3 separate regions of the Homo sapiens genome follow, and regions 2 and 3 are each linked to region 1. The links are contacts of gene promoters, found by promoter capture Hi-C in human tissues and cell types (Jung and others, 2019). All regions are on one chromosome and are shown on one strand. The core of a region is centred on a gene start or on the middle of the fragment in contact, and the rest is flanking DNA. Distances in the headings are between cores, read along the strand shown.

Evidence for each region. The method cuts DNA at HindIII sites, captures the fragments that hold promoters and counts their contacts. A contact is called where the count stands out against the background at its distance.
Region 2: a contact is called between a fragment that was not itself captured here and the fragment with the promoter of FMOD in region 1, in 1 of the 25 tissues and cell types used here (H1 embryonic stem cells).
Region 3: a fragment that was not itself captured here is called in contact with the fragment with the promoter of FMOD in region 1 in 2 of the 25 tissues and cell types used here (heart right atrium and mesenchymal stem cells).

Annotation. Positions count from the first base shown.
Region 1 is chr1:203,349,841-203,352,422 of GRCh38, forward strand. FMOD (fibromodulin) reads right to left here and starts at 1,282. Exons shown (of 3, transcript NM_002023.5): 1 at 1,193-1,282. The HindIII fragment of the contact is 7,092 bases long and covers 1-2,582 here.
Region 2 is chr1:203,652,630-203,655,211 of GRCh38, forward strand. The region is part of intron 1 of ATP2B4 (ATPase plasma membrane Ca2+ transporting 4); the gene reads left to right. Among named protein-coding and RNA genes, the nearest start is that of ATP2B4, 27 kb to the left of the region's middle. The HindIII fragment of the contact is 3,712 bases long and covers 1-2,582 here.
Region 3 is chr1:203,067,780-203,070,361 of GRCh38, forward strand. It overlaps PPFIA4 (PPFI scaffold protein A4), which reads left to right. Exons shown (of 30, transcript NM_001304331.2): 26 at 1-13; 27 at 674-849. Among named protein-coding and RNA genes, the nearest start is that of MYOPARR, 15 kb to the right of the region's middle. RefSeq lists an enhancer at 1,688-1,737. The HindIII fragment of the contact is 8,794 bases long and covers 1-2,582 here.

The DNA of each region.
Region 1 (2,582 bases), core at 32-2,531:
CCTAGGTTGCAGAGGAGCAGGCACCCTGGCTCATCCACAGGCAGCCTCAGGCCTCAGACAAAGAGCCACAGTGTTTTGGAGAAGCTGACCCAACTGCCCACTGCCTGGGCAAGCTGGCTGGTTCCTGGCTCTGGCCAGGAGAGAAGACGAATGGAGCGGCCCACTGCCAACAGAGCATTTTTCCATGCACAGCCCTGGGCTGTTGCAGGACCAAGGTGGCTGTCTGGAGGGCTGGCACAGTGAGCCTCTGTCTCCGTTTCTCCTTCTTTCAGACTGGGCACCTTGGCAGACAAGAGCCACCTTCCCCTTCAGACTCAGCTTTCTAGGGGCTGTGCACCCTGCCCACTTCAGCCTCTTCTTAGAGCCATGGGTGCTGAAAGGGTTTGATGGGGAGCTTATGCCTCTCCTTACCCCATCCCATCTCTTAGCAATGTTGCTTCAGGGTTGCATAGTCTTACACTGTTTCCCATAATGCTAGAGGCCCTCCTGTGCTCAGAGTTTCTGTAAGGTCGAAAGTTTCCAGGACTGCCACACTATCAGCTGGGGGAAGTTTACTCAGGAGCTACTGCTGTTCTTTCATTTCTCCACTCTAGAGAAAGATCTCTCCCTCCTATCAGTGGAGAAGGTCAAGCCAGAGGCCATCCCCTCACCTGGATTGCATCCCCACCCCAATCCACAGCTCCCTGGACATGGCCAGTTCTCAATGCTTCTTTTTATTCTCTCCTTTCCACTCCAAACACACACACACACACACACACACACACATTCTACACAAAAGTTTCCCCCTCTCCCATAATAGCATTTATGTACCAAACCCCTCTATAAGAGAGATTGCAGGGACATCCAGGTCTTGGAATACCCTTCAAAATGCCCACACTCCCAGCATGATGGGATTTATGAGTAGCAGGGAAGAAGCTTCCCTAGACAGAGGGTCCTTCACTTTTTCATGCCTGAGAATTGGAGGTCCCCTCAGCACCCATAAAGGAACTGTAAGAGAAAGGTACAGGGCTGGAACCCCTCCCTTATACACCCTCTCTGCCACTCTCCAGCATCCCTGGGGTCATGGCCCAGATGTGGAGAAGGAGGAATGAACCCTCCCTGCCTCCCCATCTCCCCTATCCCCTACCACTTTTCCTTTATTTCTTTTAAGGAACTGCTAGGGACAAACCCGAAGTAAAACGACTATACTTACCTCAAGTTGAACTTTTCAGAGAGTGACCACGTCCCTCTGTCTGGCCTCCTTGGGTTGGAGAACGTGTGAGAGAGGAAGAGAGAGAGGAGTGAAAGAGTCTACTGAGAGTGTGCGTGCCTGTGCCAGACCAGGGTCCCGCCCCAAATTCCTAATCAAATATTGTGAAAAGGGGCTGAGGAACCCGGATCCTGGTTTTTTTCAGCTCTGCTGCAGGGGCGGAGTTCACGCTCAACCACGCAAATCCTTCGGTCCGCCTGACGCTATAAAAACCACCTTTTTTCCACTCACTTATCTTCCCTGAAACATTGGCAGCCCTGGGTCCCTTTCTGCTGAATGAGTTAGTGGCGCCCTAGAAGTTATTTGTACAGTCTCTTATGAAGCGCCTGGATTTCTCATTAAAGCCACAAAGGCAGATGCAGGGATGGGGAGGGCCAGGGTTTGGTAAGAGACATCTTAACTCCTTCAGCAACCCACATGTCCCTCCAGAGAGCGAGAACTCGCGCTTCTCAGCTCCCCCTATAGACAGGTCATCAGGCTAGTGGATAAGGGAGCATGAATGACAAGGGACAGCCGGCTCTGGTTCCAGTTCTATCCCTAAGCAGTGTAGACTTTTCTAGGCTACAGGTCCTGCCCACCTCCACCACTGGAACAAAAGGAAAGGCAGGGACTCCAGCATTTGCTGATCACTGCTTATGCACTAGCATCATCCACTTCCACTTAATGCTCACAACAAATTCAGAGTTAATAACACTTACCTTGCTGGGTTGTAGCAAGGACTGTATCAGGTGATGTGTGGGAGGCTCCTGACCTGGCACATAGCTGAGGTTCACTGTGTCCTACCCATTTCACAGCCATAGAATTCCTCAGCCAGGGAAAGACAAGATCAGAAAGCTGGGCAGGAGCTGTACCATGAAAGGACTTTTGGGCGATGGAAGTGATTTGGTTTTTATTCTAAATGTTTTTGTTGTTGTTGTTGTTGTTTGTTTGTTTGAGAAGGAGTCTCAGCTGGGCGTGGTGGCTCATGCCTGTAATCCCAGCACTTTGGGAGGCCGAGGCAGGAGGATCATGAGGTCAGGAGATCGAAAAGGAGTCTCGCTGTGTCGCCCAGGCTGGAGTGCAGTGGCACAATCTCTGCTTTCTGCAACCTCCGCCTCCCAGGTTCAAGCCGTTCTCCTGCCTCAGCCTCCTGGGTAGCTGGGACTACAGGCACACGCCACCACGCCCAGCTAATTTTTTGTATTTTTAGTAGAGACAGGGTTTCATCATATTGGTCAGGCTGGTCTTGAACTCCTAAACACAGGTGATCCACCCACCTCAGTGCCCCAAAGTGCTGGGATTACAGGCGTGCGTCATCCGGTCCGGCCTATTCTAAATGTTTAAAAAAAAAAAC
Region 2 (2,582 bases), core at 26-2,525, 300 kb after region 1:
CTGTGTCACATCTTGGTAATTCTCATGATGTTTCAAAGTTTTTCATTATTATTATATGTGTTATGATGATTTGTGATCAGTGATTTTTTGGTGTTACTAATAGAATTGTTTTGGGGTGCTACAAATGGTGCCCATATAAGGCAGCAAACAATCAACAAATGTGTATGTTCTGACTGCCTCACTGACGAGCTGTTCTTCATCTCTCTCTTTCTCCTGGGGATTCCCTATTCCCTAAGACACAACAATATTGAAAGTAGGCCAGTTAATAACCCTACAATGGCCTCTAAGTGTTCATGTGAAAGAAAGAGTCACAGGTCTCTCACTAGAAATCAAAAGCTAGAAATGATTAGGCCTACTGAGGAAGTCGTGTTGAAAGCTGAGATAGGCCCAAAGCTAGGCCTCTTGTACCAGTTAGCCAAGCTGTGAATAAAGGAAAATGTTCTTGAAGGAAATTAAAAGTGCTACTCCAGTTAACACACAAATGATAAAAAAGCAAAACAGCTTTATTTGCTGACAGGAAGGAAGTTCAAGTGGTCTGATTAGAAGATCAAACCAGCCACAACATTCCCTTAAGTTGAATCCTAATCCAAGGCAAGATCCTAAATCTCTTCAATGTTGTGAAGGTTGACAGAGGGGAGGAAGCTGCAGAAGAAAAGTTAGAAGCTAGCAGAGCTTGGTTCTTGAGGTTTAACGAGAGAAGCTGTCTCCACAACGTAAAGGTGAAGCAGCAAGTGCTGACATAGAAACCACAGCAAGTTAGTCGGAAGATCTAGCTAAGATAATTGGTGACAGTGGCTATGCTAAACAACAGATTTTAATGTAGGCAAAACAGTCTTCTCTTGGAAAAAGATGCCATCTACGACTTTCATAGCTAGAAAGGAGAAGTCAATGCCTGGCTTCAAAGTTTCAAAGAACAGGCTGACTTTCTCATTAGGGGCCAGGGCAGCTGGTGACTTCAAGTTAAAGTCAATGTTTACCATTCTGAAAATCCTAGGGTCTTTATGAATTTTCCACCCCTCAAGGTTCAAGTGATTCTTCTGCCTTAGCCTCCTGAGTAGCTGGGATTACAGGCACCCGCCACCACGCCCTGCTAACTTTTATATTTTTAGTAGAGACGGGGTTTCACCATATTGGCCAGGTTGGTCTCAAACTCCTGACCTCAAGTGACCCGCCCTCCTTGGCCTCACAAAGTGTTGGGATTACAGGCGTGAGCCACCACGCCAGGCTTCTAGGGCCTTTAATAATTATGCTAAATCTATTCTGCCTGTGATCTATCAAAGAAACAACAAAGCTTGGATGACAGCTCATCTATTTACAGCATGGTTTGCCAAATATATATATATATATATATATATATTTTTTTTTTTTTTTGAGATGGAGTTTCGCTCTTGTTGCCCAGGCTGGAGTGCAATTGTGCGATCTCAGCTCACTGCTATGTCTGCCTCCCGTGTTCAAGCAATTCTCCTGTCTCAGCCTCCCGAGTAGCTGGGATTACAGGCGCATGCCCCCATGCCTGGCTAATTTTTGTGTTTTTAGTAAAGACAGGGTTGCATCATATTGGTCAGGCTGGTCTCGAACTCCTGACCTCAGGTGATCTGCCCACCTCGGCCTCCCAAAGTGTTGGGATTACAGGTGTGAGCCACCGTGCCCGGCCAGTTTACCAAATATTTTAAGCCCACTGTTGAAACCTACTCCTTTCAAAATACTACTGCTCATTGACAATGTACCTGGTCACCCAGGATCTCTGATGGAGACATACAAGGAGATGAATGTTGTTTTCATGCTTGCTAACACAAAATCTATTCTGCAGCTCATGGAACAAGGAACAAATTTGACTTTCAAGTCTTATCATTTAAGAAATGTATTTTGTAAAGCTATAGCTGCCATAGACAATGATTCCTCTGATGGATCTGGGCAAAGTGAATTGAAAACCTCTGGAAAGAATCCACCATTCTAGAGGCCATTAAGAACATTCAAGGGCTGGGAATGGTGGCTCATGCTTGTAATCATAGCATTTTGGGAGGCTGAGGCATGAGGATCACTTGAGCCTAGGAGTTTGAGACCAGCCTGGCAACACAGGGGGACCCTGTCTACAAAAAGTGAAAAAGTTAGTCAGGCATGGTGGTGTGCTCTTGTGCTCTCAGCTACTCAGGAGGCTGAAGTGAGAGGATCGTTTGGGCCTGAGAGGTCGAGGGTGCAGTGAGCCATGATTGTGCCACTGCACTCCAGCCTGGGTGACAGAGTGAGACCTCGTCTGGAAAAAAAAAAAAAAAAAGGAAAGAAAAAGATATTCATGATTCATGGAGGAAGTCAAAATATCAACATTAACAGGAGTTTGGAAGAAGTTGATTCCAACCCTCATGGCTGACTTTGAGGGGCTCAGGATTTCAGTGGAGGAAATAACTGTAGATGTGGTGGAAATAGCAAGAGAACTAGAATTAGAAGTAGAACCTGAGGATATGACTGAATTGCTGCCATCTCATGATAAAACTTGAACAAATGAGGAGTTGCTTTTTAGGAATGAGCAAAGAAAGTGGTTTCTTGAGATGAAATCTACTCCTGTTGAAGATGCTGTAAATACT
Region 3 (2,582 bases), core at 55-2,554, 280 kb before region 1:
CATGAGATCAAGGGTAAGCTCGTCAGGCTTGGAGAGGGTTCGGGAGCAGCCTGCTTGGCTGGTCCCTGCCTTGGGCCAAGTGGAGGGGAGGCATTCTGTGTCTCAGGGAATCTTCCAGTCTGAAAAGGAAGATGCAGCCTCACCTTAGGGAGCTCCCAGTCTGATGGAGGAGACATAGTCCATGCCAAGTTGTCTATAATTCCCCTCCCTCAACCCCACATACCAGATAGCAGCCACCAACTGGACAAATGCAGTGAATCCTCTGGGACGGTGTTATAGACTGGTGTGCCTGTGGAACTTGTTGATCTGGATGGGGCTGGATGGGAGATGCAAGTCTTAGAGGAGACCTTGAAGGTGGAAAGAATAAGAAGGCCATTCCAGCTTGGGTCAGGGGGATGACCCGTGCAAGGGTTCTGGGGAGAAAGCTTGGAGCCTGTTGGCCTGACCCCGGGTCCTGTAAACTGGCAGGGATGGAGTGAGTGGGGGGTTGGTTCCCCAGGCACCCAGGTGCCAGGGAGGAGAGAAAGAAGATATGGAAATTTAGGGATGGAGTGGGGGTCAGAGAGCAGGGTGGACTGCGGCTCTGGGTTTAGGGAGCTCTGCTTCTGTCCTTGGAGGGCCCTTGATGAAACGTAGTATCTCCTTCCGTCCCTTTTCTTCCCCCACACTCCAGATGTGTTAGTCTGGACCAACGACCAGGTGGTTCATTGGGTCCAGTCTATTGGGCTCCGGGACTACGCAGGAAACCTGCATGAGAGTGGTGTGCATGGAGCCTTGCTGGCCCTGGACGAGAACTTCGACCACAACACACTGGCCCTGATCCTCCAGATCCCCACACAGAACACCCAGGTGGGCAGCCTTTTAATCAGTCAACTTGAGTCTCTCCCTGTATCCCTCACTTGCTCTCTTTCTTTCCCTCATACACAAAGGCTTAGGTATCTTGGGGGGTGGGGAGCTTTTCTAGGGCCTATGCCAGAGGGGATCGCAATGTCCTCAATTCTCCAAGTGATCGCTGTGCATAAGCAAGCCCTCATGGGAACACATGGCCTTCACATACAGAGCACACCTAGCGTGGGCCTGGCACACAGTGTGCTCTTACAATGCGCATCCCCGTCCTGCCCTGGGTACCTCTATCTCCTCCTAACCCCACTTCATAGCTGAGACTCTGAGCCTTCCTTTTCATCCTGCTTCTCTGATCTGACTTTTCTTAGAGGGGAATGAGCCCCAGGGCCCCTAGGGACCAGAGAGCCCATATCACCTTTGTCTACCACCCTAGGGATCTGCTCCTGGGCCCCCAGCCTTAAAAAAGCTAAATATACCAAATTACACAACCCAGAGCCTCTCCACACCAGGGCTTTGGCTCTCTGTCAACAGCTCAAATGATTAAACATCTCATGAAATTACATTTCATCATTTTTATGGAGCTGTCATCTAAGAATATATCTAAATTCTCTTGAACCTATTTATATTTTTGGCCTTTCTAACTTCCTGTGGGTAATAGATTCTAGAAGTACTGCTTGTTGTGTAGAGTACTTCCTGATTTTATTTGTCCTGAAAATGCCCCTGTCAGGCCCCTGGGGAAGGAACTACCTCCTCTTGATGGTTTAGGTTTGGTAAGGATATTTGTATTTAACTAGTTCTCACCTTTTATGATTTCATAAACTCTGATTGTATTGCCTCTGGGCCCAAGCCTTTGTCTCTCCAGACGGAGTGTTCTTAATTCTTTTAGGCTTTCCTCATATAGACTCGCCTCTGTCCCCTGATTGTTTTAGCTGCCCTTGTCTGGACTGTTTGCAGCTGTCAGATCTCTTTTGAAATTCAGCCACCAGAGCTGCACAGGCTATTCTGGGAGCAGACACGTTTTGGCTTGAATGAGGGTAGGGCTGTGTTGTCTCGTAATTCTGGGCAGTGTGTTGGCCTTTTGGGGGTGGTGGCAGTGCACAGGGCCATTGTGTCCTGTAGGCATTCTGCAGTGACCCCCCCGCCCCGCCCCCACCCCAACCAGTCAAAATAGATAGGACAGATCCCTTCATTCTCCAAGAGGAGCCTGGATTTTTCCCCCAAGTGCGTTCTCTCCACTTGCCCACTTCGGGCAAGCCTCGTCTGCCACTTTGCTGCCCACTCACCTCTCTTTGTGAGACGCTTCTGAAATTTACACCTATCCTCCTCACCTTTCACTGCCCAGAGGAGCAGTGTCATTTGGATACTTGAAATTTACTGTGCTTCTCCTTTCAGATCATTTCTAAAAATGTTATGTTCCCAATACTGGCACAGACTGTCCTTATGGAACTCTACGCTTAATATTTTCTACCTAGAAATGGACTTTTCTCTTTCTTTGATTTCCTATCTCTAATGCATTCAGTTTTGGAGGATAGCAGTAATTCTGTAAATAGTAGCAGGGACACCTCCCTATGGCTTTCTAACCTTTCTTAATTTCCTGACCCCGTCATTGAGCTTAGCTGTTGGGAGAAGTAGTGTGTGACCCAATACGGAATCCCTCATTTAAAATGGTTAAAAATGGCTCGGTGTGGTAGCTCAGGCCTGTATGCTCAGCATTTTGGGAGGTCAAGGTGGGAGGATTG